Linked DNA regions of Homo sapiens: region 2 is linked to region 1. The links are contacts of gene promoters, found by promoter capture Hi-C in human tissues and cell types (Jung and others, 2019). All regions are on one chromosome and are shown on one strand. The core of a region is centred on a gene start or on the middle of the fragment in contact, and the rest is flanking DNA. Distances in the headings are between cores, read along the strand shown. Region 1 holds the start of RRS1 (regulator of ribosome synthesis 1). Region 2 has its middle 15 kb from the start of SNHG6.

Region 1 (3,905 bases), core at 539-3,038:
AAAAATAATCTGTACCAGGTATCCAGGTAACCGGCTTCAAGTACAATTTCTACCCAGTAGTCAGAAAGTTAAAAGTCACACTAGATAAGACATCTTTATTACTTAATCTTTAAAACAGTCACTTGCCTATTCAATTCTGAAACTGTTTGTTTTCTTTCCCTCCCCCGCACTCCCGCTCTGATACACAAACTTGTTGTAAAAATAATGCAGAAACATATACGTCAATCTAAGTCTCTGAAATATGGCCAACTCTACCTCGCCGTATATCCAACATTAAAAAGAAAAAAAAAGGCTGTTTAAGAATAGAACTCATTCCCGGTTTCCACCAAATTATTTCCCTAATTCTTAAATCCTCAAATAAGTTCTTAATCTCCAAAGTCTCGGTTGTGGGAAAAACATTAATTTGTGCAGTCCAACACTTACATACTTTCTTGACGGAAGGGCAATCCTGTCCCTTTAAACTCAATGAAGGCAGCGGCCAGGTCCTTCTGAGTCCCCGTATAATTGCCTAGAACTTAACATTTAGTATTCATAGTCCTTGGTTTACAGACGGGTCCGACAGTTAGAAACTATTACTTCCTCCTCTTTCCTCCTGGGCGCTGTCCTCCTTTTCTCTTGCCACCCAAGCCAGGCGGCCCAGAATTCATCTTGCCTCCCAAGCCCCCTTTCCTCTTCCCTCCCTGGCTGGGCGGGCCCCCTTTCCTCTTGCCCCCAGGCCCCTGCCGGCCTCCCTTTCTCTTGCCCTTCTGGCTCATTTTCCTCCTCTTGGCGGCCTCCTCCTGGTCCTCCTCCCTCATCTGCTTATTGGTGGCCCTAGTCACATCCAGCTGAGGCTTCTTGCTGTTCATGACACGAAGCAGCTCCAACTGGTTCTTTTTCTCGGCTGCAAAGTCCCCGAAAAGGGGTTGAAACTTCCTTTTCTTGCCGGAGCCCCGGGGCACCTTCTCCTTGGGGAGGCGCTCCTGAAAGCGCCCCACAGAGGCGGTGGAGACCTTGGCCACTTGCATGGCGCGGCCCAGCTCCTCCTTACTCTGGTGTCCGGTAGGGTGCAAGCCGGCCGCGCTGGGCAGCTGCATCTTGTGCGCGCGGGCCAGGTTACGCAGCCGGTTCAGCTCGTTCTTGGCCACCCTTTCCTTCTTGGCCTGAATCCGCTTGGCGAACTGGTCCTCCAAGGGGTCGGCATTGCCGGGCACCTCAATCAGCCATTCTTTGGTGTCGTCCCGGGCGCGCTGGTAGCCCCAGCGCCGCCGCCACTGGCCACTCACCTCGTCCCACACCAGGTTGGTCTTCTTCTTGGGACGGATGCCCTTGAGGCGCGCGAACTGCTGCCAGCGTGTAAGTGGCCGCGGTCGGGGCAGAGGCTTCTCTCGCGGCAGGCGTGTGGTGGGCTCCGGCAGCCGCGCCACTATCGCCTCTTCCACGCGCTCCGTGGGCAGCTGCCACAGCTGGTTGATGAGCAGTTGCGTGTTGTCCCGCGCCAGGGCCTGTAGCTCGGCCTCCGGCGTGGGTCCGGCGCACCGCAGCCCGGTCGGGGGGTTCCGGTCCGACGCCAGCAGGTTGCCCAGGTCAAACTGCAGCTCCAGCTCCTTGTGCACCGTGATGCGTTGCAACTTCTCTGCCTCGTCCTGCTCTGCCTTTGCGAGCAGCTCCTCCACGCTCTGGCCCTCCATGGCTCCGGCTCGGCTCACTCGCTTTGGGGCTGCAGCTGAAGTTACTTTTCCTACAGTGGCGGCCCAAACTCCGGCAGCATAACCACGTGCAGATGCCGGGATGCCCAATCCGGAAAAGAAAGGTTCGCTTCCGGAGCGTCCGGAAGCGGCTCGCAATCCGGGCGACCAGAGGAAAGGCCGGCAGAGGGCGGTATGGAGAGATGATGGGATTAGAAGCGGGACCTTTAGGCTGGCGCCAGATAGAGGCGGAGCTGGCCCGAGCAGGCCGCACTGCTAGTTCCAGAGCAGGATTGGGACTACGATTCCCAGGATGCAGGGGGCGGGAGGCGGTCTAGAGGGCGGTCCAGGGACAGCTCGGGGGGCCGCCTAGGGGGTGGTCCAGGGGGCGGTCCGGGGACAGTCTCGCAGGCGGTCTAGAGAGGGCGGTCCCGGGGGGCGATCTAGGGGGCGGTCTTGGGGGGGGCAGTTCAGGGAGTGGTCTTAGGATGGTGGTCCGGGGACAGTCTTGGGGCTCAATCCGGAGGGGCGGGCCGGAGGGTTTGTCCAGGGGCGCGGTCCGGGACCGGGGCGGGTACAAATTCCTGGGACTGCCTGTGGTGTGGGGTTCCAATCAAGTGCGTGTTACAATTTCAGTGTAAATCCGTTGTGAAGATGTTTAGACAATCACCCTTCTTAGGGCCAAATAGTTTCACTGGAGTCATAGTCGGCTTTCAGGGTTCCTAGTTGTGGCCCGAGAAAGATAACATCCCAAAGATACACATAGAGCTAATTGTAGAAGATTCGTTTTGTTTTGGGAGTCAGTGGCTCTGGCAATGAAGCCACCCCGAGTGGGCGCGGGTGTGCACCGACCCTAGTGAGCTAGCTGACTCGGAGATCCGGGATTCTGCAGTTACAGAACCTAGTCTAGTTCAATTAATCTAGTACAGTGCTGAAACTAAGCCACGCTCTGCAGTTACACTGCCTGGGTTCCAATCCTGACTGTGCCACTGTTGGTCCTTCAGCAATTTTACTTGTTGAGGCCGTTTTAAGGCCTGCGAGATAATGATAATAATACTTCCTAGGGTGGTTATAAGATAAATGAGTTAATATCGTCCAAGGGAGGGTTAGACGAGGGCCTGGAGCGTATGAGTACTCAGTACAAATTAGCCAAATACCGATTATTATTTCATTTTCATAGGCTCTGGGAGGTAAGTGCTACATGGTGTTAAGTATGAGTCAAACGGCCTACAATCAGGTATCAGGTCACCATTACTTGGAGAGGATGTTTGATCTAAGCCTTATTTATAAATTGACAAACATAAAACATTAGTTACTGCTACATGGTAAGAACTCAGTATGTGTTAGCTATTAGTATTAACTATGTTATTAATTATTGTATTAACTATATTATTTTCACAGATGAAACAAGGAGGGCTCAGAGAGGTGAAATGACTTATCTAAAGTTATGCAGTTAGGGAATATAAGAACAAGAGATATCTTAACTCTGGTTTTAAGTCTGTAGATCTATTCTCTGCAATGTCGTCCAAGCTCTTGATACTCATTAAAGTGTGGTCTGCATACCAGCAGCATAATATCCCCTGGGAGCTTGTTGGAAATGCAGAACGTCAGGCCTCACTCTAGATGTAATTTATCAGAACCTTTATTTTAATAAGATCTGTAGGTGACTAGGATGTACATTTGAGTATCAGAGGCACTGTTGATTGCGTGGTTTACAGGGTTTATCTTCCTTTCACTGGGGGCCAGGTTTATCCTAGAGGGGGTTATGCTGGAGAATTAACCAATGAAATTAACTTAATAGCAATTAGCAAATAGACTCAGTTTAGTTTCAGCATTGTGCTAGCCTTTCTCATCCAGAAGCATTTTAGAATTTGCTGTTTTTTTTTTCCCCTTGAACCTACTTTAACATTCAGCATCAAGGCTTTAACATCAGTCATCCCATGTAGCCAAGGCTAGGTCAAAGACCATATTAGCTAACTGCCTTGAGCCTTAAACCTTTGGGATTTGCCATAGGAGAGAGTTGAGTGTATTGATATGACTGCTATGGGCTTGGCTTGGTTTCTCATTCATTCATTCACTTGACAAACATTTAATTGAATGGCTACCATGTGGCAGACACTAGGTGCAAAGATAACTGAGACCTTATGGAATACTGGGGAAGAAAGGTAAAAAGAAATTGACTATATAATGTAACGTCATTGGACCTTTAATAGGAAGTACCAGTTATGTAGGAGTTAG
Region 2 (3,905 bases), core at 706-3,205, 510 kb before region 1:
TCACATTAGTAAATATCCTTAGGGCATGCAGCAGTTTAGAGGAGGGAGGAGATAATATATTTTTCATTACTAAACTGATCTGTGGCCCTCAGCCTCCCTAACTCATTGACTTAAGGCCCTCTTGGTTAAGGGCAGATTCCTCCTAGAATGAAGTCACTGTACGCCTCTGTACGCCTTTGAAAATGCAAAAATAGACTGGGCGCAGTGGTTCGTGCCTGTAATCCCAGTACTTTGGGAGGCCGCGGTGGGTGGATCTCCTGAGGTCAGGAGTTCGAAACCAGCTTGGCCAACATGGTGAAACCCCATCTCTACTAGAAATACAAAAATTAGCTGGGCGTGGTGGCAGGCGCCTATAATCCCAGCTACTTGGGAAGCTGAGGCTGGAGAATCGCTTGAACCCAGGAGGTGGAGATTGCAGTGAGTGGAGATAGCACCATTGCCCTCCAGCCTGGGTGATGAGAGCAAAACTGTCTCAAAAAAAAAGAAAATGCAAAAATAACTTTGAGAGTCCCTAGCAAGCAAGATAATAGACTTAAATTTCAGACTTTATGAAGAGAGAAAATGGAATTTTAAGTTCCAAAAGCTGCCCTCTATGTATAAGCGCCAAGATTGGAGGTCTATAAATGGAGTTTTACTAAAGGTGCTAACAGGGAAGGGAGGCCAAGGCACTGAGAGGTAGTGGAGGTGTCAACCTCCACTGGTGTCCATCTTGAGAAAAATAGGGAAGTGTGGGGTAGTGAAAAATTGGAGACAAGGGCTGACCTTGCCACAGTTCTCTAGACAAAGCCCAACAAAGCCCTAGATTCTGCCCAGAGCCACACCCTGGGCAGGCAAGATGAGCAATGGCTGAGGGAGGGTCCTGAGGGCAGCCCCACACCGCAGGCTGCCACAGGTCACAAGCTGCTGAGAGTACTCAGGCCAGGATGCCAGGACACAGGAGGCCGCAGAGTACAGGGCCCCCAAAAGGGGACATTGTAAGCAGGATGCAGGATCTCAGCAGTGGATGCCAGCATGACCCTGAGGGACCAGGTAGTGACAGACACACTATGTCAGAGTGCAGTCTAGACCCAGAGGACAGACAGCATGGGAGCCTGCAGTCCCTCCCTCCATGTCCTTTTGATTCACAACTGCTCCCTGAAGCCATCTAGGGATGAATGGAGAAGGACAGGCAGGAAGCCCATTGAGTGTAAACAGCACTGATAGAGCTTCAACTTTTACTTGGCTGAATATTTAATGAACAGAGACTAACATCAAAAGGGATCTGTTTGGCAGTTTTCCTCTTCAGGAGTGAGGATTCTAGAACAAGATGAGGTTGGATACAGGACATAAAGCTACGTTATTTTCCTCACATTCCAGTCATGGTATGGACATTTTAACCCAATTATACAGTAGAGATGGACTATCTGCATCAACAGTTTACACCTAATTGCTCAGTATTCCAACTTATTTGACCTTATAGTTTAGAACACACCAAAATGACTGTGTTGGTACTGAGGACCTTCCTGGACCTTTGCAAATGGATTAGGAAAGAGTCTTGAGAAACTTGCCCAGCGTTGTCCAGCTAATCAGAGGCCAGATTCAGGCCCAGACAGTATGGCTCCGAGAGCCTGGTTCCTGTCCTAGACTACCTACTCCGTTAGTGCCTGGATGCTTAAAGCACTTGAGTTTGCACCCCTAGTTTGGTTGGAAAACACTGTCCTTTGCTGCAGGTCTCTCACTGTGGTAAGCACTTGGTATAGGGTTTGTTCTCAATACATTTCCCTTGCCTTTTGCCCTCTTCCCCTTAGCTCACAAAGTTGATATGAAATAATAGCTGAGAAAGTGCATGTAGGCAGCTCAGTGCAAGCTAGGTGTGTCTTCCCTGGCTCATTAGCTCCATTTGATGAAGAGTTAAACATGTAAGGTGAAGCGTGACACAAAAACCCGCAAGCTGCCTTAAAGGGAAAGATGGCTAATTTTGACTACATAAAAATAAATTCACAAAACAAAAGACAAGGTCAAAAGACAAAACACAAGCCAGAGGAAAAAAATCACAACACATGATAAAGCAGTAAATCTCTTTACATAAAATCAGTTCTCAGATTTCAAAAAAGCAAAACACCAACAACTTAGTGGAAACTTGCACAAATGGGAGCAAAGACCGAGCCCCTGCACTCCAGCCTAGGCAACAGAGCGAGACTCTGTCCCCCTACCCCCACAAAAAAAAATAAAAAAGAGAAACTTCCACAAATGGTAACAAACAGCAGTTCATAGAAAGAAACCAAACAGGGCCGGGCACGGTGGCTCACGCCTGTAATCCCAGCACTTTGGGAGGCTGAGGTGGGCGGATCACTTGAGGTCAGGAGTTCGTGACCAGCCTGGCCAACATGGTGAAACCCCGTCGCTACTAATAATACAAAAATTAGCCATGCATGGTGGCAGGCTTCTGTAATCCCAGCTACTCAGCAGGCTGAGGCAGGAGAATCACTTGAACCCACGAGGTGGAGGTTGCAGTGAGCCGAGATTGTCCCGCTGCGCTCCAGCCTGGGCAATAGAATGAGAATCTGTTTCAGGAAAAAAAAAAAAAAGAAACCAGCCAATATATTTATGAAAAGATACACAAGTTCAGGCATAATTAAGAAACACACATTTAGAAAGCAATGGAAGAACATATTTCACCTGTCAATGATACAAAAAATACTCATCATTAGTGAAGGTGAGGAAATGAGGACTTTTGTACTGTTGGAAGCATAACCTCTTTTAAATGTAATTTGACAGTATCTCCCACTATTATAAGTATACACACTCTGACTTAGCAATGCCATGTTAAAAAATTTCCCTACCAGGCCGAGTGCAGTGGCTCACACCTGTAATCCCAGAACTTTGGGAAACAAGGCGGGTGGATCATGAGGTCAGGAATTCGAAACAAGCCTGGCCAAGATGGTGAAACCCCGTCTCTACTAAAAACACAAAAATTAGCCAGGCGTGGTGGCATGTGCCTGTAATTTCAGCTACTCAAGAGGCTGAGGCAGGAGAATCGCTTGAACCTGGGAGGCGGAGGTTGCAGTAAGCCAAGATTGAGGCACTGCACTCCAGCCTGGGCGGTGGAGCAAGACTCCCTCTCAAAAAACAAAAAACAAACAAAAATCCCTATTGATATACTTACATTTGTAAATGTATGTAAGAATAATTATTGCAGGTATTCATCATTTTTACCTTATAATTTGTAGCCTTGACAGTTTCCCCAGCCTTCAGTATTGGCTGCACCCAAGTAACCTATCAAAAAATGCAAACCTGAAGATATAACATACTTGCTCAAATCCCTTCAGTGGTATCCCATGATCTAAGGATGAAGTCTAACCCCTTAACTTGATTTATGAACCCTCTTCCTATGTCACTGCCCTCCACCACTTCCTATTTTACATTTTAGTTATTAGTAAACACATGTGCACACACACACACAGCTATTTCACGCTTCAGTGCCTTTGTTCATCAATCATCAGTTGGTCCACAAATTTTTTTATTTTTTTATTTTATTTATTTATTTTTTGAGATAGAGTCTCACTCTGTCGCCCAGGCTGGAGTGCAGTGGCTCGATCTCGGCTCACTGCAAGCTCTGCCTCCCGGGTTCACGCCATTCTCCTGCCTCAGCCTCCCGAGTAGCTGGGACTATAGGCGCCCGCCACCACGCCCGGCTAATTTTTTGTATTTTTAGTAGAGACGGGGTTTCACCGTGTTAGCCAGGATGGTCTCGATCTCCTGACCTCGTGATCCACCCGCCTCGTCCTCCCAAAGTGCTGGGATTACAGGCGTGAGCCACCATGCCTGGCCCACAAATGTTTTTTTAATGCTACGGCAGGCATTGTTCATTGCTTACTAGATTAGTTAGGAATTGCATTCAGCTGCTAATAAGAAAGACCCAACTA

The links. Contacts are between HindIII fragments. The study calls those that stand out against the background at their distance.
Region 2: a fragment that was not itself captured here is called in contact with the fragment with the promoter of RRS1 in region 1 in 1 of the 25 tissues and cell types used here (mesendoderm cells).

What each region holds. Positions count from the first base shown.
Region 1 is chr8:66,426,897-66,430,801 of GRCh38, reverse strand. It overlaps RRS1 (regulator of ribosome synthesis 1), which reads right to left and starts at 1,788. Exons shown (of 1, transcript NM_015169.4): 1 at 69-1,788. The coding sequence starts at 1,670. The coding sequence ends at 573. RRS1-DT (RRS1 divergent transcript) reads left to right here and starts at 1,825. Exons shown (of 3, transcript NR_040434.1): 1 at 1,825-1,860. The region is part of intron 1 of LOC102724687 (a long non-coding RNA gene); the gene reads left to right. RefSeq lists enhancers at 221-270, 1,540-1,909, 2,330-2,399 and a silencer at 2,050-2,139. The HindIII fragment of the contact is 14,371 bases long and covers 1-3,905 here.
Region 2 is chr8:66,938,170-66,942,074 of GRCh38, reverse strand. No RefSeq gene overlaps it. Among named protein-coding and RNA genes, the nearest start is that of SNHG6, 15 kb to the right of the region's middle. RefSeq lists an enhancer at 878-1,379. The HindIII fragment of the contact is 8,975 bases long and covers 1-3,905 here.